Regions from separate parts of the Homo sapiens genome. Here all the other regions are linked to region 2. Evidence: promoter capture Hi-C in 16 types of primary human blood cells and fetal thymus (Javierre and others, 2016). All regions are on one chromosome and are shown on one strand. The core of a region is centred on a gene start or on the middle of the fragment in contact, and the rest is flanking DNA. Distances in the headings are between cores, read along the strand shown. Region 1 has its middle 5.1 kb from the start of GAS1. Region 2 holds the start of NAA35 (N-alpha-acetyltransferase 35, NatC auxiliary subunit). Region 3 overlaps SLC28A3 (solute carrier family 28 member 3). Region 4 holds the start of DAPK1 (death associated protein kinase 1). Region 5 overlaps SLC28A3 (solute carrier family 28 member 3). Region 6 overlaps SLC28A3 (solute carrier family 28 member 3). Region 7 overlaps QNG1 (Q-nucleotide N-glycosylase 1).

Region 1 (3,726 bases), core at 803-3,302, 1.0 Mb before region 2:
TATTTCTGCCTTTAATTTAATGAACAATTAGACATCTGTAAATGAGGCAGCCAAAAATATGTAATTGACTGGCTTCTATTGGTGTTTGCATTTGTGGAGAGAATTCACAAAATAGTGTCTCCTGTACATAATTTGAGGATAACTCAGACATGTTGCCCCGCCTCCCCCTTTTCCCCTGAGACCTCCCCTCTTTGTATCCCCCTTCCCATCACCCCTTACCCCCAAGAGTATCCTCTCTGGCTACTAGCCATTCTCAATCAAACATGCCAATAACATCTGTTACCAATAGGTTTTAGGAAGCTTGCAAGCTCAATACTTCAAAGTCATTTTCACACTTTTGGTGAAAAAGTACAAAATTTTGTTGCAAAACATTCAGACCAGCAAAAGTAAACACACAGGGGAAAGGAACAATCACCAGAACTTGTAATATTGTTGTGAGGAGTTGTTTAGCAGTGGCTGAAGGCTGGGTTCCTGCCAGAGCTACTGATCTACACTCAAACGCCCTTAGATAAATAATTACACTCTTAAGCTGTGTCGAGTGCTGATACACTTGACCTTGTAAATAGAAATGTTTGCAGTAGGAATAAACTCCGGCATTGGAAAATCTTTTAAACATTAACACAAAAGAGAGCGCTCTGTCCTCTAGGGATTTGAGCCTGAACCTCGCCAAGCTAGGCACTTGCAAGGGGGAAAAAAAGTTTATTTATCTTCTATTCCTGGTGTTTGTTTAAAGCTTTTCATTTTAAACGCGGTGATTGGAAGGCAAGTCGGGAGTTTAAAAGTCACCACAAATAAACTTTGTCTGAGGGGTCGACAGATTAGCAAGATCTGGTGTCTCTTTATTTGATATTAACATGTGCTGAAAAAACATAACCAGATTTCTCTGCTGCCTAAAGTAATTAACGAAGCTATGCCCCCATTCTGACTTCCTCATACCCACTCCCACCCCCCTACTTTTCAAGGTTTCTTGTGCTTCTAACTCGCTCTTTTCCCAGCTTTTATGGAGGTATTCAAGACACTTCTTGGTGCACCTAAAACCACGATTTCTATATGTATAGTATTAGAAAGTCTAAGATAGCTGTAGTGTCAGACTTAAGCCCAGGAGAGTGGTGTGTGGTTGGAATCTCCAGTCACCTGAATGGTTGAGTAAACATATTGTTAAAACAAAGCTGAGAGCGTTGTTTCTTTGGGAAGCGAACAAAGAGTATTCCCAGAGACTTGTAAATGAAATCAGCTTTCTTTACAAAACGACAAGTTAGCAGTGCTCCTGCGTTTGTCCTTAAATATATTTAAATCATCTCCATCTCATGTTATTTTAACACATGCTTGACTAAAAGTTAAGTCTTTGTCCCAGTAAAAGGCCCAGTTTTCCCCAGTAAGAAGTAAAAGGCATTAGCACTAGAAAAGGCCTGATAATTAACTGCTACAATAAACTCACAACTTGATTTTACAGGGTCCTGTCAAAAGCATCTGCCTGGAATAAATCAACACAACTCGCTCTTGGGGAGAGAGGACACGAGGCTTTATGTTTTCTTCCTTAAAGAAAGTGAACATTGATTGGTGGTCCATTTTAATTTAAACAATTATACACTGGAGCCCAGGAGTCCTCTGGTACCCCTACAGACCTAGCGGAGGTTGTTGAGATGTTAGAACCCTTTGGCTAGTGGTTATGAGATTGCATATTGCCATCTGCTTCTAAGCAGAAAGGATTTTTACAGATGTTGACATCTGTAATATCTCACGCTCTCTGGGGAGCCTTTTGGAATTTTGGACATTTGGCCATCTCAAATGTCCCATGGAGAATGGCTGGAAGTCCCATTAATGAAAGAAAAGGTATCTCTGGCTTTTCCTGGGGATTCTCAAAAAGCATCACCCTTCTAACAGAACTCTGCCAGAGTGAGAGGAACTCCTTCTAGATTTCATGTAAAATCATGAGTCCTCACGGCCTTTCCCATTTCCCCAGTTAGCAGGTTTGAATTCTCAGTGACAGTTTATTTGTCTTTGGAGGCACTTCAGTGACAAATGTTTAAGGGAGTGTGGGACAATGGTCGAGAACAAGGAGGCAGTTCATTGAACTGACAGTGACCATACAGTAAATAGAAGGAGGTTCAGGCTTCACTGCTCACCCGAGCACACAGCAACGCTTTTGTATATAATCACAATGGACATAACATAAGGTCCCTGTTTATTTTAAACAATATATAGCTATGTACGTGAGCAATACACGTATGTAAAGTGGAAACGTGTCTGTAGGGAAATAAGTTCTTCTACTAAGTAGCAGGACTTCTCTGTACTTGGACAGCAACGCTTCAAATGTCTAGAAGGATGGACACAGCTCCTGGCCCTGACTGCCACAAATTTAAGGGACCACCAGGCTCTAACACATCTAGGGTGCACCGCCATTCTCCAGATGGGGTCCCTGTGAGTGAAGACAGAATCTTTCCATCTCTCTGCCTTGAAGAGTCAGGAGAACCCTCATGGGAGTGAGCTTTCTCTGTTCCTTGCCACCATCTGTATTGACACCCTCACCCCATCCCAGCAATGTTACAGAGAATCAAATAAAAATAGATCCCCAAAATACAATGAGGACTTTCAGAAACCTCAAACATTGTATTAAAATTTTGTCTACTTTTAAACTTTGGCTTTGCATTGTTAGCTTGTTGAGTTCATTGTGGAGGCTCTCTAACAAAATAACCTCATGTATCTCTTTTCAACCCATAAAAAGAAAAGCCTGCGTTATTTGTGTTTTGACCTCTTACACCAAGGGACATCAGAACTCTTGCCAATTGACCCTGTTTCTCCCAGCTACTCAAAGCAAGGTTGTGGGAGGGCATCAGGTTGCAAATGCCTTGTGGCCAATGTAGTTAAGGAGGGTTGAGTTTCCAGTGGGTCTCGTTGCCTTGTGAGTGAAGTAAAGTTGGACTTTACTGTAGTCTATTTGAGAGATTGCCTCTGGAAGACAGTGGAAAAGGTTCACCCTTGACTATCTGAATGACATAAGTCATGTGCTATTAGCATAAATACCTTCCTTCTAAGCATCAATTTAATCAATTTCTTAAATAACAGAATGATCTACTACAAAATAGTGGACTGTATACACTATATTTTGGCACAAAGATGGTCATTCTCCCACTAGTAACCAGGGGCTCTAAATAAATGATTTCAACAATGTTTTATTAAAGGACGACAAGAGCCCTCGAGCTGCATTAATCGGGGAGAAGTCGAGTGGCACTTTTGTTATGGAAATGTTAAGCACATAATAGCACAGCCAAACAATGTGCAGCCACTTCATTCTTTCAGCCATGCTGACACCTCTTAAAGAGGAACTGCAGGGAAGGATGTGGGAAAGATTTGCTTTCCGAGGAAGCTTTCAGCTAATATTTTGGAGGGCTACCTTCAAACCCTGTGTAATATGCATGCAAGAGAATCCCGAAGGGCTGCTGAGATGCAGAAAGTGTTTTCTCCACTTATTTCAGGAGCATGGGTTCCATAATAAAATCAAATGTCTATGGTTTTTGATACGGTATTCACCAAAACAATACTTTACTGATTTTGTTGTTCTAAGAGTTCAATTTTATAAAGTTGATCAAAGACAGCTACTCTCAATGGTGCTGGTATATACTATAATTATCTATAGCATGTTCTCCTTAAGCACACAGATAGCATCTACACAATGTTGTCAAGGACATCTTCAATCTGTAATAAAAAATAAAATGCTATTATAGA
Region 2 (3,386 bases), core at 209-2,708:
TGAAACCTCAAACATACAAAAATACTATTATCTTTTAGATTAACAAAGTGTTTTCCACAGTTAGAAATTACTGCTCTCTCTAACCTGTTAAAGCAAGAAAAATTCAATTTTAAAATACTGCCTCAACATCTGTATTTAATGCTGTATCAAATATACATTTGCTTTAAAGTTAAAATTAGAGGATACAGAATAAGTGTGGCTAACAAACTCAACAAACCACATTTACCTGTTGATTTCATCTAATGAGGTAAGTTTAGAAAGCACAATCGTCATTCTACCCCTTCCAGATGCTGAACTTCTAATCCAAAAATCAGACTCACCTCGACAAGCTTCTTCAAAATCTTGGGTAATGTCCACCCAGTTTGTATTGCTTTTCTCCATTTTTTCTGGCATACTGAGCTCCCATCCTGAATCGTCATCATCTACAGAAGCTTTCATAACCATTATGCCTGTAAAATTAATACTGATGTAAGAGAGAGGATGTAGCTTTCAGGGCAAGAGTATTTGCAGAAATGGGTGTTTGTTTCAGCATAGGATGAAGTCTTAACTAAACTCTTTAAAGCAGAACTCTTCTGAGTCTAAGGACAGTACTGCAAAGAATAACCTTAATGCAATCAAATCGCACGTCAATTAACACTCCTGCTGCTTACTATTAGCCCACCACCTACCAGGGCCCATAAACATTTTGCCTTCCTACTGTTTAAGAAGAAAAATCACAAACCATCTCACCTCTGGCCCGAAAAGAACAACTCCAGAGCTTCCAACTTTCAATAATAGCCACAAAAGACCAAGGCACTATTCAGGGTCCCCTCTCGCAGCCCAGGACCCCATGCGGCAGCTACCGAAGTCAATCAAGGTAGCCCTTCATCTGGCCAGAGCTCGCTGGGACCTCTCCCGGGCCAGAGCCGGCCCGGACCCAGGCAGAACCTCGCCGGGAGCAATGAGGAGCCGGCAGGCACCGCAGGGTCCCGCCGGCCGGGCCTAGGGCCGAGGCACACCTGAGGCGGGCACACGCTTCCCTTCCGCCCTGCCCGGGTCAGCCCAGCCCAGCCCCGGTCCCACTGGGCGCATAAGCAAGGACAGAGCTGTCGCCGCGCGGGAGGGCGGGCACGTCCGGCGCCGGGTCGTCGCCTCGGCAACACCGGGCAAGAGTGGGGCCTCGGCCGACAGCGGGCACTGGGGAGCCCGCCGCTCCTACCTGACGCGCAGCGGGAGGGCCGGGGCCGCAGGGTGACCTGGGGTCCCCAGGATCTGCCACACGCGCGGGGGGCTGCGGCTCTCGGACACACGAGCGAGAGGGTTTCAATGGCTACGCAGGGGCGGTCCCTACCTACTTCTCCCGTGGTCACCCGCGCCGCCACGCACTGTCCGGACCACGGAAATAACGACGCCGCCTCGGCCGCCGCCGCCCCCTCCCCTCTCAGCCCAGCCCGACCGGCAGCGTGCACGCATGCGTATGCCCGGGACGCGCGACCCCGCCCCCTCTCCCTTACTCCCGGGGACTTCGCGCTCCCCGGCCACACCCCCTCCCTCGCCACCGCCTCCGTTCGGCCGATGGCGGCCGCCTTCTCTTCTCGCGAGATTAGAGACGATCGCGAGACCGGAAGTTATCTTTTTTCACCCTCTGTCGGAGTCCTGGGTAGTGGGCGGTTCCCGGAAAGAGGCGGAGCCCGGAGTCTCAGAGCCCGCCCCGTCTGCGCTGCCCTCTGGGAATTTCTTAGAAAGGTGACGCGAAGGCGGAAGGAAACCGTGGAGGTTTGCGTAGACCTTAGTGGTTGCGAGCACGAACGAGCAGCCAAGCTCCGAGAGCAACAGCGTGCTACTGCTGCCTGACAACGGATTTATGTTTCCTATACAGCGCCTGGGAGTTTCGTGAGGAAACATAGATTCAAAATATCTGCAAAGTCAAGCCAGACATTTAATTTCAGATTCTTATATGTTTTAGATTTTTTTAATTTATTAATAAAATGATCAGTTTTTAAATGGGGTTACATAAATAGACGGGCGCAGGTAAGAAGCACATCTTTATCACCACCTGTTCTTTAGGATGGCCCAAAATTAAAAGATGGAAAAGATAATACCAAATGTTGGCAAGGATGCAGAGCAACTGGACCTCTGTTATGTTGGTGGTGGTAATGCAAAATGGTACAACCACTTTGGAAAACTTAACAATCTCTCCTTATAATCATATACTTATCATTCGATCCAGTAATCTACGAATTTACTTAGGAACAAAAACATATTCATACAAAGGCTTGTACGTTAATGTTCATACCAGCTTTGTTTTGCTTTGTTTTTGTTTTTGTTTGAGACAGAGTGTCACTCTTGTCGCCCCTGCTAGAGTGCAGTGACCTGATCTCGGCTCATTGCAACCTCTGCCTTTCAGGTTCAAGCAATTCTCGTGCCTCAGTCTCCCGAGTAGCTGGGATTACAGGCGCCTGCCCCCACACCAGGCTGTTTTTTGTATTTTTAGTAGAGATGGGGTTTCACCATGTTGGTCAGGCTGATCTCAAACTCCTGACCTCGTGATCTGCCCACCTCAGCCTCCCAGAGTGCTGGGATTACAGGTATGAGCCACCGTGCCTGGCCCAGCTTTGTTTTTAATCATCAAAAACTACAGACAACCCAAATGTCCATCAACTGTTGAATAAAAACAATTTGTGGCATATCCATACAATGTAATGAATGTAATTATCAATAAACAGGGATAAACTACTTGACATACAACATGAATGAATTTCAAAAATATATTGAGTAAAAGAAATCAGGCTGAGCTTGGTAGCTGGTAGCTCATGCGTGTAATCCCAACACTTTGGGAGGCTGGCAGTGGAGAGGTCGGGTTGGAGACTAGCCTGACCAATATGGTGAAATCCTGTCTCTACTAAAAATACAAAAAAATTAGCCAGGCATGGTGGCGTGCGCCTGTAATCCCAGCCACTTGGGAGGCTGAGACAGGGGAATCCCTTGAACTCAGGAGGCAGAGGTTGCTGTGACCCGAGATGGTGCCATTGCACTCCAACCTGGGCGACAGAGTAAGAAATCAAATGCAAGAGTATGATTCCCCAAGTGAGACCCCAGGCTCTTAAAAGACATCTATAGTGACAGAAGACAGATTAGTGGCTGCTCAGGGCTCAAGAAGAGACTAAGTTGGATAGAGCTTGATTTGAAGTGATGTAAATATTCTGTTTTCGATTAAGGTAGTGCCTGTGTGGGTGAATACATTTGTAAAATTTCACTGAAGTATATACTTACAATGTGTACATTTTATTGTTTGTAAACCGAACTTCACAAAAATTGGTTTAAAAAATTTTTAAATGGCCGGGCGTGGTGGCTCACGCCTGTAATCCCAGTCCTCTGGGAGGCTGAGACGGGTGGATCACATGAGG
Region 3 (3,716 bases), core at 162-2,661, 1.6 Mb after region 2:
TGCTGCTCCTTACCTGGCCTCTAAACCCACACAGGCAGGCAGGTAAAACAAGAACATCTCTGGGGAATGGTCTAGCTAGTGCCCATTAACTCACACTAAGGATTATGCACACCCGAGACTTGAGCCAGAAAGTTACATGAACCAAGTGAGTCAAGACCAATAGATAACGATCAAGGACTTCTAAAATACAGTCTTTGAAAATGCAATCATTCCTAGGCAAAATCCATGCAGTCGAAGAATAACATTTAGAGAAAGGGCCTTAAAACATTTGACATTGGTAGATGGTAAGAGTAAAAAAAGAGTTGAAGTGGGGTATGATCCCAAACAATTTTGAGAGATCAGATTCACCAAACAGATGTTGATTTTGATAAGTCTAATTTCAAATACAGAGGACAACACGACTGTAAATGCCCCAGAACAAGCGAGAAGCAAACTAAACCATGAAATTAACTTAATAGTCAATGAGCACTTACTATGTGTGCCACTGGATGGAGCCACCCAACTTTGTTAGGTAGGTACTGCCTCCATTCCCACAAGAAGCAAGACCACTGAATGAGTGCAAGACCACTCATGCAATTTGCTCTGGCAACCAGGCCAGAGCAAATTCTATAGTGAAGAAAGGCTCTCCTAGCACAGTGGTGGTACCTCTGCAGCAGAAAAACCCCCACCACAAGAACTGAGAAATGGAAGCCAGGCTGTGTGATTACAGCACAGTGCCAGGGAGAGGCTGAAGAATGTCAAACCAGCCATGATGACAAGACATGTCCACAGAGGCAGGAGTCCCCACCCATGTTACTCAAAGGATATATTCCACTTAAAACCAGCGTACAGGGCAGGAAGACCACTATTGTGGCTTGAGAAATGACCACAGAGCCTAGGTGTAGCTAAAAGTGGCCACAAGCTTCTCTGGAACTTTCAACACTTCTATAATTTATACCTTTGTCTTTTAATATCTGGAGTTCAAATCAGGCTTTCTAAGTTCTAATTTCCAAACGGAATTTAATTCCTAGGCACACTACTGTGTCTTTTGATCTTCACCAGGCCCAAAGAATCACTCCTCTATAGGCACAAGATGGTCTGGGGAGGGACAGTCTGGGCTGAGATTCTACCCCAGCCATTTCTGGCTACACAACCCAAGTCAAGTGATTTACTTATCTTTGCCTCAGTTTCCTCATCTGTGAAAATGTGGATCATGGTACCCACCTCATAGGCCTCTTGGAGTTGTTGTTGTTGTTGTTGTTGTTGTTGTTTTGAGACGGAGTCTTGCTCTGTCGCCCGGGCTGGAGTGCACTGGTACGATCTTGGCTCATTGCAACCTCCACTTCCCTGGTTCAAGCGATTCTTCTGCCTCAGCCTCCCAAGTAGCTGGGACTACAGGTGCCCGCCACCACGCCCAGCTAACTTTTGTATTTTTAGTAGAGACGAGGTGTTACCATATTGGCCAGGCTGGTCTCGAACACCTGACCTCATCATCCGCCCGCCTTGGCCTCCCAATGTGCTGGGATTACAGGCATAAGCCACCACGCCCAGACAAGAGTTTTACACAGTGTCTCCTGCCTACTAAATACTGTATCATTTGGTGCAAAATAAAAGCAAAAACCAAAAGTAACAAGAGAAAAGTTAGTTTCATCCCAATAAAGTTGAGGTGGATGGTACAGAGCCGGGGTGAGCCTCCTGCTCAAGGCTTCCAGGGACCCAAGTTCCTCCCAACTCAGCACCCTGACATCACAAGGATGTGGGCCTTGTATCCATGGTCCAGTTGGAACCATCCTCACACTGGGCAGCAAGACAGAGGAAATGACAAAAAGGAACAAGTGCACCTGCCAGCCATCCCTGGCGGAACATTCCCCGAGCTGCCCCCAACAGGGCACCCTTTCTACTTTCATTTCGTTGCCAGAACTTAGTTGCAAGGGAAGCTTGGATATGTAATCTTTTTCCTAGGTGACCATGTGTCAGCTAACATTCTTTGAAAAGGGATACCACAAATAGGGGAGTCATTTTAGAAATTTCCAGTGTTCTAGAAGTTATTATATGGTTTAGAAAGTGAATGAAAGGAAGAAAATAAAAATGCCTCTGTCCATCTCTGCCTCCCTCTAATAGCCACATAGAAAGTGCAAGATCAAAGAAATGGTGGGAAACAAACCCCAGGCACAATGTACTCCTGGTTACTAGGCTGTCCCTTCAAAGGGGGCTCAATCAGGACCCTCATCTTTTAGCACACCTAACAACTAAAACTAACTAGAGAAATTAAATGTGTAAGCTGTAAACGGCCTAGACATACTCACAATGCAATTCCCTCACCTTTCTTACACATTCAACAGAGGGATAGATTTTACCATGAGAACGCAGTCGTGGTTGTAGGGCGTTAAGTGTGCAAAGGTATTTAGTAATGTGAGTTGCTAAATAAATGGAAAGAAACATTGAGCTAAGACATTATCTGGGGCCCCATATCACAGCCCCACGACTCTAATTTAAAAAGAAGAAGAAAGACAGTTGTCTTAATGGTCATTTTCCAGGTACCAGTCAATATCCACAATAACCCCACTAATTCTGTTGGAAATCCTCAAGTGGGAGATATTGTTCTTCCAGAAAATACTAAAAGGCCAAGGCGTATACTCTGTTGGGGGCCAAATAAGACTATTACACAGTGGAGAACAAAACCACACGTGCTCTTGTTGCCACTTAAAGGAGTGCCCACTCTATCCCTCAACACACACACCTTCCACTTTCATTAACTTTAAAAACGTAGGATCCACCCGTGTTCCACCAGTAGTTTTCAGATCCTGCCACCAGGTGGCAGGAGGAATCAACGTCAAGAAGCTGAATCTCCTAATAGAATTAGAAAATGTCAGGATTCCGTAAGGATCCGCAAGAACCCCAAATCCAAACTGTGTTGTATGAATGAGGGAGTTAAGGCTTGAGAGAATGTGGCCTGCTCAGTAGGGACCCTAAGGACTAGCCCCTCAGTGACCTGTGTTCTGTTACTCCACCAATTCATGTTTGGTTTTATTTTTAACTTAGTATTAAGGAACATTTTAGCATCCACCAAAGTAGGAGAATAATAAAATGATTCTCCGGGTACCTGTCAGCCAACTTCAGCAATTAGCAACATTCTGTCATCTTCCCATACTATGTATATTTTTTCTTTTCATGCTGTTTGTTTGTTTGTTTTTTGAGACTGAGTCTCGCTCTGTCGCCCAGGCTGGAGTGCAGAGTGGTGTGATCTCAGCTCACTGCAACCTCTGCCTCCCAGGTTCAAGCAATTCTCCTGCCTCAGCCTCCCAAGTAGTTGGGATTACAAGCACCTGCCACCACGCCCAGCTAATGTTTGTATTTTTAGTAGAGACGGGGTTTCACCATGTTAGCCAGGATGGTCTCAATCTCCTGACCTCGTGATCCGCCCACCTTGGCCTCCCAAAGTGCTGGGATTACGGGCGTCAGCCACCACACCCAGCCCATGCTGTATTTTTATACCAAGAACCCAAGGGTACTACATTGCTGTGCTAATGCAACATTAAAATTACTGTGGGTCATTAATTCAAAACATTGTTAGTGTCTGCTATATGCAAAGAACTGTAGGATATAAGCAACTGTAACAAAAAAGGAAGTATGGCACAATACTTTGATGCATGAATCTTGTACTGTAACTTTTTTTTCATGTTTATTCATTCTTGTGTTTCAGTAAGTAGAAAATGCAATACAACTTGGAATTGCAA
Region 4 (3,625 bases), core at 394-2,893, 1.6 Mb before region 2:
ACCCTCCGTTTAAATCACACATAAAAGCTAACTCCAATTGCAATTATAATCTTAGTGTTTGTCCTGTTGTCACAGAAGGGCAAGGGCTGACAAGAGTTAGCACGGACAATTAAATCTGATTTTGTCCAGGGGACTGGATCAATATACTGTGCATCATAATCTAGCCCTGAACTGCTGCCTCTCCTCCACCCCCAGGCCCTTGGATCAGGCGGTTTACCGCTGGGTTAGTAACTCTTTTCTCTATGATTTGCGCATCTCCAGAAAGGGCGAGGGAGACGCCTGATTCAAACTGCATTTGTTTACCACCCAATGGCCCCATCGTTATGCATTTCCACAATCCAGGAGGGTACGCTTCTGGTACCCCCTTTACCTGCCAAGTTCCTCGCCGGTGTCGTAGTAATCATCCACGTTTTCCTGCCTGAACACGGTCATGATAAACTGTCACGCCTCACCAAAGCCCAGGGCACTTCAGCTCCGCTTCCCAGACCATCACCACCGCTCCTGCGCCTCCGTAGCCCCCTCATGCATCAGTCTCCAGTCCTTTTGAAGAAAAAAAAAAGGCAATAATAATAGTAAAATGGCAACCCCAAAAGGAAGTAGACCTCCCCGGCGCTAAGACCCCGCTCGCTGAAGACCGGGTCTCCGGAGCTGCCCCTCCTCGCGGGGTGGAGAGGAGCACCCTTTGTTAAAGCTGGGCGGCCAGGGACGCCCCCGACCCCTCAGCCCCGCGCGCGCGTGGGGCCGGGCACCACGGCACCCCGAGGTCGGCGTCCCCAAACGCTGGGCGGTCTGTTGGGATCAGAACCGGCTCCGGAAGTGACTGGCCTCCCCGCCTCCCCTTTCTCTGCACACATGCCCACCCAGCTTTCCCACCTCCAGGGACGCCGCGGAAGAATGAAGCCCTCGCCCAGACGGTACGCGCCTCACTGGGAGCAATCTCTCTCCAGCCTGCGGCAACGGTGGCACCCCCGCGCCACCTCTCGGCTCCCGCGCCTCTCCTAACACCGTGGCCACCCTCTCCCCTTCCCCGAGCGAGGCAGTCCCCAGAGCCACATTCCTGGCGACTCCCTCTCCGTTACCCGGCCGACCCGGCGTGCGGCCGCCCGGGGGAGCAAGGGAGGGAAGGGAGCGGCCCACCGAGGCGCAGCAGTTCGCTCCAGATCCTCGCGCCCCGACACAAAGCGCCTGGTCGGGCCGGCGCCACCTGTTCTCACCCGGCCCGCGGGGCTGGGGAAGCCTCCCGGCTGCGATCGCACTTCTCCCCGAAGCCAAGTTTCCCTCCGCCTTGGCCTTCCCAGTTGCTCGAGGCACTGCCCGGACAAACCCCACCGCGCCCTGGCTGGGAAAGCAAAAGCTGGCGCCGGGGGTCGGGGGGACCGGGGAGCCGCGCCTGGCTACTCACCCGGGCGCCTGGGAGCTCCCCCGGTCCCTCCGGAGCGCTGTCGGAGGCCGACCATAGGCGCCAGCGCCGGAGACTAGCCGGGGCGGCGGCGGGAACACAGCTAGGGAGTGAGTGGGGGGCGCAGATCCCTCCCAGGCGCCGGCCCCAGACCCTGCCGCTGCGAGTTGCCGAGTCCCCTCCGCGGAGGGAACAAAGTCCCCGGCGTTGGCTCGGTCCGGCTGTCCTCCTCACACTCCGAAGCAGCCTCTCGGCTCCTTGCCGCCTTTTGGGCGGAGGGCGGCCGGCAGGCGGCCAATGGGGACCCTGCAAGCGGGCTGGCGGCGCGGCCCACCCACCTCCGAGCTGCCCTGCCAGGCCGGCGCTGCGGGTTCTGCGCGGCGCTCGCTGCTCCTCCCAGCTCCGCGCTCCGGGCTCGCTGGCGCGCTCTACCGCGCACACCCCGCACACACCCACTCGCCCCACACCCACGCCGGCCGGGGAGCCAGTGCGTCCGCCCGGAACGCGGGCGCCCCACCTGTGACACATTGCTAAGCTGCCCTCTGACTGGGTTCTAGGGAAACACGGTTCTTCCGTCCCGAGATGTGTACTGGGATCCCAGCTTGTGCCGGGCACGGTGCTTGGTATGGGAAAATCACATAGAACAAAACAGATTTTTTTAAATCCCTGCCTTCCGGAAACCTGCATTCTGGTGGGACAGATAGATAATAAATATGTAAGCTAATTAATAAGGTAATTTTGGAGGATCAGTCCTACGTTTACCACGAAACAGGTTAATGGAATAGAGAATGGCAGGAAGGGAGCGTACCTCATTAGACTGGGTTCCTCTGCCGGACTGGTGTTGGAGCCGAGGCTTGAAGGCAAGAAGGTTTGCAATCTGAAGAAAGGGTTGAGGTCTCCGAGACCCAAAGAAGCAACAGAGACGCAGAGTTTATTTGCGCTATCCCATATGCTATTGGCTATTGTTGAGCTGAAATGTAGCTAGTCCCAAATTAATTGTGCTGTAAGTGTAAAATACACATTAGAGTCCAAGACAGTATGGATATGAGAATGAAAAATATCTCATGAATATTTTTATATTCATTACACTTTCAAATGATAGTATTTTGGATACGTTGGGTTAAACAAAATATATTATTAAAATTAATTTCACCTGTTTACTTTCTTTTTTTTGAGACGGAGTCTCACTCTGTCGCCAGGCTGGAGTGTAGTGGAGCGTGGCAACCTCCACCTCCAGGGTTCAAGTGATTCTCCTGCCTCGGCCTCCCCAGTAGCTAGGACTACAGTCGCGCGTCACCATGCCCAGCTAATTTTTGTATTTTTAGTAGAGACGGGGTTTCACCGTGTCGACCAGGATGGTCTCCATCTCTTGACCTCGTGATCCGCCCGCCTGGGCCTCCCAAAGTGCTGGGATTACAGGCGTGAGCCACCGCGCCCGGCCTCACCTGTTTACTTTTTAAAAGGTGGCCACTAGAAAATATAACAGTACCTATGTTGCTTGCATGAGATTTCTGAGGACTGTGCTGGTCTACACAAAGATCCCATATCCACTGGAGACCTCTATCCACTTTCTCTACTTCCCACCCCTTGCTCCCACCTAATGTTTGGGTGGAGACGAAGAAGGGTTGATTCCCCACATCCCACTGCTGGAGAACCCCAAACGGTGAAAAGCTCCTAAAGGGAAATCTATTTTACTGCCTAGAATGATGAAAACTGACAGATGAAGAGATTTCCGATCCATACCGTTGTTCAAATCCCCAGGCTTTCTAAACTGAGTTGGTTCAAATCTCTGTGGTTCAACAGAAATTTTCAACTGTGAAGATTTTGGCCTCTTGAAAACAAGGCAAAACAAAACAAAAGAATACCCCTCAGGCCTTATGTCAAATCCTAGTCTTTTTTTTTTTTTTGAGACGGGTTTTCGCTCTTGTGGCCCAGACTGGAGTGCAGTTGTGAAATCTTGGCTCACTGCAAACTCCGCCTCCGCCTCCCGGGTTCAAGCGATTCTCCTGCCTCAGGCTACCCAGTAGCTGGGATTACAGGCATGTGACTATGCCCGGCTAATTTTGTATTTTTAGTAGAGACGTGGTTTCACCATGTTGGTCAGGCTGGTCTTGAACTCCTGACCTCAGGTGATCCTCCCGGCTCGGCCTCCCACAGTGCTGGGATTACAGGCGTGAGCCACTGCGCCCAGCCAAATCCTAGTCTTAAATAACATTGCATTAATGA
Region 5 (3,754 bases), core at 466-2,965, 1.6 Mb after region 2:
AAAATGAAAGGAAGCTTCCTCCTAGTTCTGTAAAATTTCCTGTCATCCTTACTCATTGGATTGATTGAAATTTGAATTTCTACATTTCAAAATCAAAATAGTGAAGACAATTTGTCTTTCAAGAGAATCAGAGGCCTCATAACTCCTGCCAAGTTAATAAGTATGAGTCTTACCTTGTTTGACATTCAGCTCTCCTGCTACATTATCTTCTTTAAGGAAAATTAATTGATTGTAAAATATGTGCTACTTCACTCGCATTATTAAATATGCATTAACATGCCACCAGGACTTCCAAATAAGTTAGGATGCTTACTTATTCACCTTGTCCTAGTCTGTGAATTGTGCTAGAAATTCATTTTTCTTCTTCAAATATTAAGAGTGCCCTTGGTAGACCAAAGTTCTAATTTTACTAAGTAGAACTACTTTCACAGCTTGAAATGCTGATATGGGTTCCCAAAAGGCCTGTGCCTGTAAGACCTGGTGCAGGTGCAATGGTTATGCATATCTATGGATTACCTGGACAGGCTCTCATCTGGACTGTTCCTCAAAGAAGGGAGCACCAATTGCTGTTTTCATGGAGCTAGTACTCCAGTGGGAAAGGTTAAACAGGAGCACAAAGTCAGTGATATGGGTTATAAGAGAGAAATGATCTCACCTCCAAGAAAGGATTTCACAGCTAGAGCACACTTCATACATGAGAGTGGATTTTGTAACCAACGATAGAAATGAATGTTAGGGTTTTTTTTTTCTAATCTCATTTTATTGTACCTCTAAACGTTTTCTATGAATAAGGAACTTATTTCTCATATGGCTGAGGATGGAAATGACTTCATTCAACAGTAGTTGCAAATAAGACGTTTGCTATTTATGAAGGAAGTTCGGATTGGCATTTAAAGTATTGCGTGTATGTGGAATATCTAAGGATTTCTTATTTTATTTTAAAATATTTTTTAAACCTTAAAACAGTCAGCAAACTGGCTCTTGATTTTGTGCAAGATGTTCCCATCAGTTCAGGAAAAATAACTGCCTGAAAGGACAAAGTACACACACACACGTGTGCAAACACTCACACCCACATACGCATACACACACGCGCGCGCACACACACAGGCTAGCATCCCCAGGCCTCAAGGTTCTAAGCAGGGCATCTCAAACCCAGCAGAGTATCATACCAACAACACCCACACCTAAAAACAGTGACTGGGTTATTTCTATTTATTCAGTAGAATCATCAACTGCCCCCTAGATATGGCCGCCTCTAAGAAGGGATACCAACTCAAGAAAGAATAATATGCTCTTCTTGCCCTCAAGGAGAAGGACAGGCAGAAATAAGCATGCAATTACAATATAATTGATGTTAAGGAAAATGGCGGAGGTTTGCACCAAGTGCATTGTATTCTTATATTTATTATTTTTTATATTTTGTCTTGCTATCTTACCAGGGCTGGTCTGAAACCCTGGCCTCAAGCAATCCTCCTGCTTTGGCCTTCCAAAGTGCTGGGATTACAGTCATGAGCCACAACACCCAGCCAGCACCAAGTGCATTGTAAATAATATATAGCTGGAGCTGAGCTGACTGAGGAGTCTGTGACAGCATCACCAAAGGAGGGAGAATTTGATTAGGGCTTTAAGGATGGTCAGGTCACAGTAGGAGGTGGGGTGGGCAGAGCACTGCAAGCAGAGAGAACTATCTGTACAGACTCAGAACCCTAAAGGAGAAGAGCACATGAGCCTGGGATGGAGGAAGGGAACACGGTATAGGGAAAGGGGGCAGGCTGGCATCAGGTCAGGTGGCCTCTGCGTGTGCTAAGGCATTTTAGAAGGAATCGCTCAGAATTTACGCAGTCAAATTGTGATTTTTTTTTTGAGACAGGGTCTCACTCTGTCACCCATGCTGGAGTGCTATGGTATGATCTCAGCTCACTGCAGCCTCAACCTCCCAGGCTCAAGCAATCCTCCCACCTCAGCCTCCTGAGTAGCTAGGACTACAGACATGCGCCACCACACTTGGCTAGTCTTTGTTTTGTTTTGTGTTTTAGAGATGAAGTCTCACCCTGTCGCCCAGACTGGAGTGCAGTGGCATGATCTTGGCTCACTGCAACCTCCACCTCCTGGGTTCAAGCAATTCTCCTGTCTCAGCCTCCTGAGTAGCTGAGTTTACAGGCATATGCCACCACACCTGGCTACTTTTTTTGTATTTTTAGTAGAGACAGGGTTTCACAACGTTGGTCAGGCTGGTCTCAAACTCCTGACCTCAAATGATCCGCCTGCCTCAGCCTCCCAAAGTGCTGGGATTACAGGCGTGAGCCACCGTGCCCGACCTAATTCTTGTATTTTTTTGTAGAAATCGGGTTTCACCATGTTGCCCAGGCTGATCTCAAACTCCTGAGCTCAAGTGATCTGCCTGCTTCAGCCTTCCAAAGTGCTGGGATTACAGGTGTGAGCCAACTGCACCAGGCTGATTTTTTTTTTTTTAATATTACTTTGGTGGCCCCATTGAAAGTGCTTGGAAAAGGAGAGGGATTTGTGTGTGGCTGGGACATCCGTTGGGAAGTTACTGTCATAATCCAAACCAGGCTAAAGGCAGTGGATGCAGACACTGGGACGGAGGTACTAATACTGATGAGGTGACCCCTCCACAATGAAATTCAGGAGTAAAGATGAGGGCCTAAATGCTGCTCTGGCTCTGAAGATTTCTGTTTTCTCCTCTGTAAAAGAGCATAATAATGGTACCTATCTTGGGATTGTTGAAATAATTAAATAAGCTAATATTATATATGTATAATGGACATTTTATACACACACACACACACACACACACACACACACGTATATACATACTTGTGAAAACAGTGCCTGGCACATAGTATGAACATAACAATAGCAGCTTTTGATGCTGAGCAGCTTAAGGAAAGTGTGGAGTCAATGTTTCCAGCTTGGGATGTCAACTTGGAAGTGATTCCCTTTGTTTATTTATTGCTGTTGTTTTAAATAGAGACAGGGCTTCACTCTGTCACCCACGCTGAAGTGCAGTGGCACAATCATAGCTTATTGCAGCCTCAAACTCCTGAGCCCAGGCAATCCTTTGACCTCAGCCTCCTGAGTAGCTGGGACTACAGGCACGTGCTACCACAACTGGCTAAGTTTTTTTATTTTTTATATTTGTAGAGACAGGGTCTTGCTATGTTGCCCAGGCTGGCCTCTAGTGATCCTCCCATCTCTTCCTGGGTTTCCCAAAGTGCTGAGATTACAGGTGTGAGCCACCTCACCCAGCCTCGGGCAAGGCTTTATTTAGGTAGAAAATCTAGGAATAAAGTTAGAGCAAAAAAGAGAGTGAGTTCTCTTTGAGGCCTGTTGGTTGAAATTAAGTTGACTCCAGGCATCTTCATGAAGGGGTAGATGAAGTAGGAAGCTTGTAGCATACGTTCACCTGGAGCTCAGAAGAGGACACACATTTGGGAGCTGTTAGCATAGATATGAGCGCGGATAAGACCACTGTGAGGGAAGCCTGGGAAACAGTAGCGCTTAAGGAGTGGGGAAGTTAGAGATGTCAGAGAATGAAGCAGAGGGCCACAGGGAGAGAAAGAGCAGCAGAACCAGGAGAGGGGCGATCTGGAGAAGTCAAGGGAAAGTAGAACCACAAGTCAACAGAAAAGACTCCGAAAGGACAGAGGAGTCTATAGAGTGAGGCCACGGGTTCACTTGACTTGCCAGCTAGGAGGTTACTGGTGACGCTAGGGTTGGGGAAGGAGGA
Region 6 (3,618 bases), core at 175-2,674, 1.7 Mb after region 2:
TTTAAATTCTCTAATGCCCAGGTCCATATCTCAGAGTAATTAAACTACAGTTCCTTGGGATGAGACCCAGCCATCAATATTTTTTAAAACTCTCAGATTCTAATGTACAGCCAAGTTTGAGAGTTGGCAGTCTGTAGTATAAGGCTAGAGAATGTTATAACTGGTGCGTGCACCCCGACCCATAGAGCTTACAAGCCACACATAGACACAGTCCCCAATATTGAAACTGAGTAACACAGCCCAGTCACTGTGTGACTCAGGAGACTAGGATTTCTTACAAAATAAGTGGGCTTCATTGTAGGTCTTCATCCAGGCCTCGGAGTGCCAATTAGTAGGAAGAGGCAAGAAGAAAGGAGCAAAGGACACCTGTGGAGCAGCTTGAGTGGATCATCTGGGGAATGCCATCCCCACTGTAGAAATGCTGCCTCAAAAATGTTCTGGGGGGAACAGGAACAGGGAGGGAGGTGTTGATCCTGGAATTCTGAAAATATGTGGAAGAGAATCCAGAAACCATGTGAGGGCAGGTAGGAAGGGGAACGAGTGGACCTGCAATAAAGAAAACAGAAGTCGTGTACAGATTAAAGGGCCACCAGATCAATGAAGATTGTGTAAAGGCACCAAGGACCTCAGGAGAGCAAAAGGAAGATGGAGAGAGGAGAATATACACATCTGCACATGAATCATGAGTCCCTTCTCCACTCCCCATCCCCTCCCCATCCCCTATCTAAAATGATGTAATGAGGCTGGGCATGGTGGCTCATGCCTGTAATCCCAGCACTTTGAGGGACCAAGGCAGGCAGATCACCTGAGGTTGGGAGTTCAAGACCAGCCTGGCCAACATGGTTGAAACCCCATCTCTACTAAAAGATACAAAAATTAGCTAGGTGTGGTGGTGGGCTCCTGTAATCCCAGCTACTCAAGAAGCTGAAGCAGGAGAATCGCTTGACCAGGGAGGCGGAGGTTGCAGGGAGCCAAGATCGCACCACTGCACTCCTGGGTGACGGAGCAAGACTCCATCTCAAAAAAAAAAAAGTTGTAATGACATACATGCTTTAGGGGCTCTCTGAACATTCAAAAGGGCAACAGAGAGGTAGAGGAATCTTCCTTGAAAGTTTCCACAACACAGGATTAATTCTTTTCTGAAACGATCAGATTTTGGTTTTATGCTTCTCCCCAGGGATGTGGTCAATTAGCACAAATGTCTCCCTTATCCCTCAGCCTCTCAAGGTGATGCCCGCGACTTGGCTCAATGAGCTAGAGTGGCTCTTCCAGACCTCCAAAGAAACATTGTCTTCTGGAATAGAAACAACCCCTGCCCTGTTTCTTCCCTTGCGGAGCTCTTGGACCCTTCCTCTGAACACAAGAAAAAAGCTAATCCCAGGTTTGCCTTCTTTCTTCTGAAATTGCAGGTTCCATCCTCCCACTTGTTAACAGCGTCAGTTATGTCAGCACCTGCGTCATTGGCTGCTGCTAAACTCTTTTGGCCTGAGACAGAAAAACCTAAAATAACCCTCAAGAATGCCATGAAAATGGAAAGTGGGTAAGTGTGACACATTCACCTAATTAATGACTACCCAAGCCGGGGCGGGGGACTCCAGGAGTCAATGTACAGCAAAAATTTGATAACCGGAAAGCACAGTGAATTACAATATTAAAGTTAGTCCAAAGACTATTTAGACTTCACAGAAAAAAGTCTTATTTTATTTCCTTTTTTTGAGTCTTGCTCAAAAAAGACTTTTTTAAAGTTGCTCTGTCACTCAAGCTGGAGTGCAGTGGTATGAACACAGCTCACTGCAGCCTCAACATCCCAGGCTCAAGTTATCCTCCCACCTCAGCCTCTTAAGTAGCTGATACTACAGGCATGCACCACCACTCTCAGCTAATTTTTTTTAGAAACAGGGTCTCACTATGTTGCCCAGGCTGATCTCCAGCTCCTGGGCTCAAGGGCTCCTCCTGCCTCAGCCTCCCAAAGTGCTGGGACCTGGCCAAAATCTTGTTTAATACTTGACATAAACCTCTCTAAATACCTAATGTCAATACATTTCCATATCTGTTTGTTGTAAAGATATTTCTTTATAAATATAGCAGAGTGTTTATGGAGCCTTGGTTTAGACAGAAAGCCATAGGATGACCATTTCTGGAGGTTCCTCCTATAAGAAAGCTGGTTCCTTTTCTTTTGCTCTGTGAAAAAGAAAAAAAAACAGAGTGGAAAAGACTAAGGGATTTAGGGTGTTCAAGAGTATTTCATTAAATAACAGAATTCATCAGCAACCAACATGTGTCTGAAATTCACCCATACTTGTATGTAGATAAAGTCAACCATGAGCGAAAAAGCAAGTTACCAAAGAATACAGCGTAATTCCACTTGTAAAGTTACTCAGTGTGCAGACTTGCACAATGTTGTTTTTTTGTTTGTTTGTTTGTTTGTTTTGACAGGGTCTCACTCTGTCACCCAGGCTGAGCTCAAGTGATCCTCCCACCTCAGCCCCTTGAGTAGCTAGGACTACAGGCACGCAGCACCACACCCAGCTAATTTTTGTACTTTTTGTAGCGACAGTATTTCACCATGTTGTCCAGACTGGTCTCAAACTCCTGGGCTCAAGCAATCTACCTGCCTCGGCTTCCCAAAGTGCTGGGATTATAGGGTGTGAGCCACTGCACCCGGACACACAATGTATTTTTTAGGGAATACAGACATGTAGGAAAACTGTATAGAAAGGGGATGATGAGTGAATTTCAGGAAGACAGATACCTCTGAGATTAGAGGGGAGGATGAGATCAAAGAAGAGTACACAGGGGGATTCAAAGTGATGGTGGCACTCCATTTTTAAATGAGGTGATGGATTTACAGGCTTCCTTGGATCATTGGTTTGTTGTTGGTTTTGAATCATTAGCTTTTATACCATTTGTATTTTATAACTATTCTCTGGCAGCTACTTGTAATAAAAATAATTTTTAAACTTGTAATTTTTTATCATTTTCCAATTTTTTATTATAAATGTCCCCAAATTTAAAAAGTAATGTAAGTTACCCAGAGACTCTGGAGGCTAAGATAAGAGGATCGCTTAAGCCCAGAAGTTCAAGACCAGCCTGTGCCATGTAGCATGACCCCGTCTCTTAAAAAAAAAAAAAAAAAAAAAAAGCCAAGCATGGTGGCACACATGCTATTCAGGAGGCTGAGGAAGGAGGATCACTTGGGCCCAGGAGTTGGAGGCTCCAATAAGCTATGATCACACCACTTTACTCCAGCCTGAGACACAGAACAAGACCCTATCTCTTTAAAAACAAGAACAAACATGGTTAAATACTCATATGCCCACTTCATGATGTCATGGGATTCAGGTGAGTATTTTGAGCAAGGCAGGGGCCTTAGAGTTTGTCTCTTATCTAAGCTCTGATTATGCTACTTCTGCACCAATGGTGTCCATCCCCTGACAACTCCTTGGTAATTCTGGAATTGCTATTTCTTGATAAAGTGATTCAGGGAATCTTCTAGAAGCTGCAACACAGGGAGCATCCTCCTCCATCTCCCTGGTGGCCAACATCGCTGTGAATCTGATTGCCTTCCTGGCCCTGCTGTCTTTTATGAATTCAGCCCTGTCCTGGTTTGGAAACATG
Region 7 (3,522 bases), core at 992-3,491, 2.0 Mb after region 2:
TCTCTACTGAAATATGAAAATTAGCCAGGTGTGGTGGTTGTAGAGACAGGGTTTCGCCGTGTTTTGTAGAGATGGAGTTTCATCGTTTTCCAGGCTGGTCTTGAACTTCTGGCTTCAAACAATCCTCTGGCTTTGGCCTCCCAAATTGATGGGATTACAAGTGTAAGCCACCACACTTAGCTAGAATTTTTTAGTTAAATTATAACCCACTAATGCTTGGTTAAATTTGTCTTTTCTATGTATAAATATAATTGGCTATTTTATTTTCATATTTGGACTTACATATCAACTTTGAGCATTTCCAAAATTGGTAAATATGATCATTTTCTAGCTGTTGATCAATTAATGTCTTCATAAAATAAGTTAATCATATTATCTGAAAGGAAACAGTTAAAAATGAATGTTGTGGTTCTCTTCAGACCTGAGCTTATGGATGATTATTCTTTGTATGTTGCTGTATTTTTTTTTAATTATTATTATTTTTGACAGAGCCTTGCTCTGTTGCCCAGGCTGGAGTGCAGTGGTGCGATCTCGGCTCACTGCAACCTCTGCCACTCAAGTTCAAGCAATTCTTCTACCTCAGCCTCCTGAGTAGCTGAGACTACAGGCGATCGCCACCACACCCAGCTAATTTTTGTATTTTTAGTACAGACGGGGTATTACCATATGGGCCAGGCTGGTCTCGAACTCCTGACCTCGTGATCCTCCTGTCTCAGTCTCCCAAAGTGCTGGGATTACAGGCGTGAGCCACCATGCCTGGCCTATACTTGGCTGTATATTATACAATTAATGTGAATTATATTGCAATCAGAAAAACAGACGTGTTTTAATTTAAGAAACTTTCAAAAGGAATGCTATCTACACATTTAAAATAATAAGCCCTTGGGCCAGGCACGGTGGCTTACACCTGTAATCTCGGCACTTTGGGAGGCCGAAGCGGGCAGATCACAAGGTCAGGAGATCGAGACCATCCCGGCTAACACAGTGAAACCCCGTCTCTTCTAAAAAAATTCAAAAAATTAGCCGGGCGTGGTGACGGCGCCCGTAGTCCCAGCTACTCGGGAGGCTGAGGCAGGAGAATGGCGTGAACCCAGGAGGCGGAGCTTGCAGTGAGCCGAGATTGCACCACTGCACTCCAGCCTGGGCGACAGAGCAAGACTCCGTCTCAAAAAATAATAATAATAATAAGCCCTAGGATTATATTGCAGAAATCTGTATATGAAGTAATGCCATTGAAAAAGAATAGTAAGTAGTATCAAGATTACATAAATTGTATTTTATGTGCCTTGAAAAATGGGAAGCGAGTTTGGAGTGATAGAAAATTTAATGTTCATTAAATCCTTTTGTTTCTTGTAAAAGATCTATGAATTTTTTTTTTTTTTTTTTGAGACAGGGTCTCCCTCTGTAACCCAGGCTGGAGTGCAGTGGTGTGATCACAGTTCACTGCAGGCTTGACCTCCCAGGCTCATGCGATTCTCCCACCTCACCTCCTGAGTATCTGGGACCATAGATGTGTGCCACCACGCCCAGCTAATTTTTTTTTTTTGTAGAGTTGGAGTTATGCCATGTTTCACAGGCTGGTCTTGAACTCCTGGGCTCAAGCAATCTGCCCACCTCAGCCTCCCAAAGTGCTGGGATTACAGGCGGGAGCCATGGTGCCCGGCCAATCTATAAATTCTTACCAACAAAGTAAGATTATTCTGCCTTTTAAAAAATGTTTCAACTGCACCTTTAAAAAATAGCATATATAAAGCTTTCAGATACTCAAATAACGTTTATATTCTCTTCATTCATCAGGGGAAAAGAGTTTCTTTTTACAAACGAGCCCAAATCCTTGTAGCAGATACGTGGAGTGTATTGGAAGGAAAAGGAGATGGCTGCTTCAAGGACATCTCCAGTATCACCATGTTTGCTGATTATAGATTACCTCAGGTTCTTGCTCATCTTGGAGCCCTGAAATACTCTGATGACCTACTGAAGAAGCTTCTCAAAGGTTTGCAACTTTAAGTCATTCTTTGTTATACTATGAATTGTTGGATCTCGGTTTAGTTTCTTTTACAAAAGGTCTCCTTTGCTTTAAAAAAAAAGTACTATTTATTGTTCATAGTATATGTAAAAAGGAAAATGCAAAGACAAAATGTAGAGAAAATGATTTTTCTTTTTGTTTACACTGTGAAATGTGGATATTGTAGAAAATTGTGCTATTTGAACATTATAATTTCATAGCCTAATGAAACCTAAATTTATGTTACATGAAAGTATGTAACACTGATAGTTCATCAGTTATAGTATTTGAAGAGTGTTAAGCTGAAGAGCACACTACATGGTTATATGAAGGTAGGTTGAAAGATAGGTAATATGAATTGGCTTTTGAGTGAAGAGACTCCAAGGTCTGCACTGGGATATCTTGCACAAGTCACTCACTTCCTTAGGCTTATTCGCCATTATTGGATATGATTATTGATATCAAGACTAGGAGCCTTATGATATATAAGCTTAGGTAAATTGGGTTGAAAAGTTTGTGTGAAAATTAGCTTATAACATTTCCTTGTATGAGGAAAATAATTATATGATTTTCATGTTAATTTCTCTTTTAGGTGCAAAATTTTCTGCTACTTTTTTCTTTATTTTATTTTATTTAAAAAATATGTTGCCCAGGTTGGTCTTGAATTCCTGGGCTTAAGCAGTCTTCTCACTTCAGCCTTCCAAAGTGCTGGGATTACAGGCGTGAGCCACTGCACCTGGCCTCTTTATGTTTGTTTGTTTGAGACGGAGTCTCACTCTGTTGCCCAGGCTAGAGTGCAGTGGTGCGATATTGGCTCACTGCAAGCTCCGCCTCCCAGGTTCAGGCCATTCTCCTGCCTCAGCCTCCCGAGTAGCTGGGACTACAGGCGCCCGCCACCACACCTAGCTAATTTTTTGTATTTTTAGCAGAAACGGGGTTTCACCGTGTTAGCCAGGATGGTCTCGATCTCCTGACCTTGTGATCCACCCACCTCGGCCTCCCAAAGTGCTGGGATTACAGGTGTGAGCCACCACCCCGGCCTTATGTATTTTTTTAAAAGAAGTAGATTCTATGATTGAATAATTTCCTCTTGTGAAATAGATTTGAATCCCCCAGATCAGAATAACACAGAATATAAAGGTACCATTATTCCTATGGTTGGCTCTACTGGGTTTTTATGCTGCCATGGGCAATCTGTTTTGTCTTCCATTTCCTCATTTGAAAAAGAACATGCTATTTTTTGTCATCATGCCCATGTCAAGGGTCACTAATTGTTGGATACCTTTAAAAGGGACAACATTTAGCAATCAGGGCTTATTTTTCATATGGCCATATTAAGCTGCTTTTTTTTTGTTTTGTACACACTGTTCATTCCTGTCTCTGAGTATTCTCTTACGTGGTTTCCATCGTCCAGTGTTCTTTCTTTTTTTTTTTTTTTTTTTTTTTTTTTGAGACGCTCTGTTGCCCAAGCTGGAGTGTGGTGGCGTGATCTCGGCTCACCAGAACCTCCGCCTCCC

What was found. The method cuts DNA at HindIII sites, captures the fragments that hold promoters and counts their contacts. A CHiCAGO score of 5 or more calls a contact.
Region 1: a fragment that was not itself captured here is called in contact with the fragment with the promoter of NAA35 in region 2 in 1 of 17 cell types (non-activated CD4 T cells); the score reaches 5.3 in non-activated CD4 T cells.
Region 3: a contact is called between a fragment that was not itself captured here and the fragment with the promoter of NAA35 in region 2, in 1 of 17 cell types (total B cells). The highest score is 7.3, in total B cells.
Region 4: the fragment with the promoter of DAPK1 here is called in contact with the fragment with the promoter of NAA35 in region 2 in 2 of 17 cell types (fetal thymus and monocytes); the score reaches 6.0 in fetal thymus.
Region 5: a fragment that was not itself captured here is called in contact with the fragment with the promoter of NAA35 in region 2 in 1 of 17 cell types (M0 macrophages); the score reaches 5.2 in M0 macrophages.
Region 6: a fragment that was not itself captured here is called in contact with the fragment with the promoter of NAA35 in region 2 in 2 of 17 cell types (total B cells and non-activated CD4 T cells); the score reaches 6.0 in total B cells.
Region 7: a fragment that was not itself captured here is called in contact with the fragment with the promoter of NAA35 in region 2 in 5 of 17 cell types (naive B cells, naive CD8 T cells, total B cells and 2 more); the score reaches 7.1 in naive B cells.

Annotation. Positions count from the first base shown.
Region 1 is chr9:86,940,509-86,944,234 of GRCh38, reverse strand. No RefSeq gene overlaps it. Among named protein-coding and RNA genes, the nearest start is that of GAS1, 5.1 kb to the left of the region's middle. RefSeq lists an enhancer at 2,814-3,514. The HindIII fragment of the contact is 2,634 bases long and covers 736-3,369 here.
Region 2 is chr9:85,939,218-85,942,603 of GRCh38, reverse strand. It overlaps NAA35 (N-alpha-acetyltransferase 35, NatC auxiliary subunit), which reads right to left and starts at 1,458. Exons shown (of 23, transcript NM_024635.4): 1 at 1,331-1,458; 2 at 321-449. The coding sequence starts at 444. RefSeq lists a silencer at 875-1,554. The HindIII fragment of the contact is 5,629 bases long and covers 434-3,386 here.
Region 3 is chr9:84,314,537-84,318,252 of GRCh38, reverse strand. The region is part of intron 1 of SLC28A3 (solute carrier family 28 member 3); the gene reads left to right. Among named protein-coding and RNA genes, the nearest start is that of SLC28A3, 24 kb to the left of the region's middle. The HindIII fragment of the contact is 1,015 bases long and covers 904-1,918 here.
Region 4 is chr9:87,495,885-87,499,509 of GRCh38, reverse strand. It overlaps DAPK1 (death associated protein kinase 1), which reads right to left and starts at 1,643. Exons shown (of 26, transcript NM_004938.4): 1 at 1,403-1,643; 2 at 371-540. The coding sequence starts at 432. RefSeq lists silencers at 685-794, 1,005-1,194, 1,565-1,914, 1,935-1,994 and an enhancer at 537-1,294. The HindIII fragment of the contact is 10,886 bases long and covers 1-3,625 here.
Region 5 is chr9:84,334,788-84,338,541 of GRCh38, reverse strand. The region is part of intron 1 of SLC28A3 (solute carrier family 28 member 3); the gene reads left to right. Among named protein-coding and RNA genes, the nearest start is that of SLC28A3, 4.1 kb to the left of the region's middle. The HindIII fragment of the contact is 3,398 bases long and covers 17-3,414 here.
Region 6 is chr9:84,285,970-84,289,587 of GRCh38, reverse strand. It overlaps SLC28A3 (solute carrier family 28 member 3), which reads left to right. Exons shown (of 18, transcript NM_001199633.2): 12 at 1,410-1,540; 13 at 3,477-3,618. All of the region lies in intron 1 of SLC28A3-AS1 (SLC28A3 regulatory antisense RNA 1), which reads right to left. Among named protein-coding and RNA genes, the nearest start is that of SLC28A3-AS1, 9.6 kb to the right of the region's middle. The HindIII fragment of the contact is 4,681 bases long and covers 1-3,618 here.
Region 7 is chr9:83,943,265-83,946,786 of GRCh38, reverse strand. It overlaps QNG1 (Q-nucleotide N-glycosylase 1), which reads left to right. Exons shown (of 4, transcript NM_032307.5): 3 at 1,798-1,993. Among named protein-coding and RNA genes, the nearest start is that of QNG1, 12 kb to the left of the region's middle. The HindIII fragment of the contact is 512 bases long and covers 1,986-2,497 here.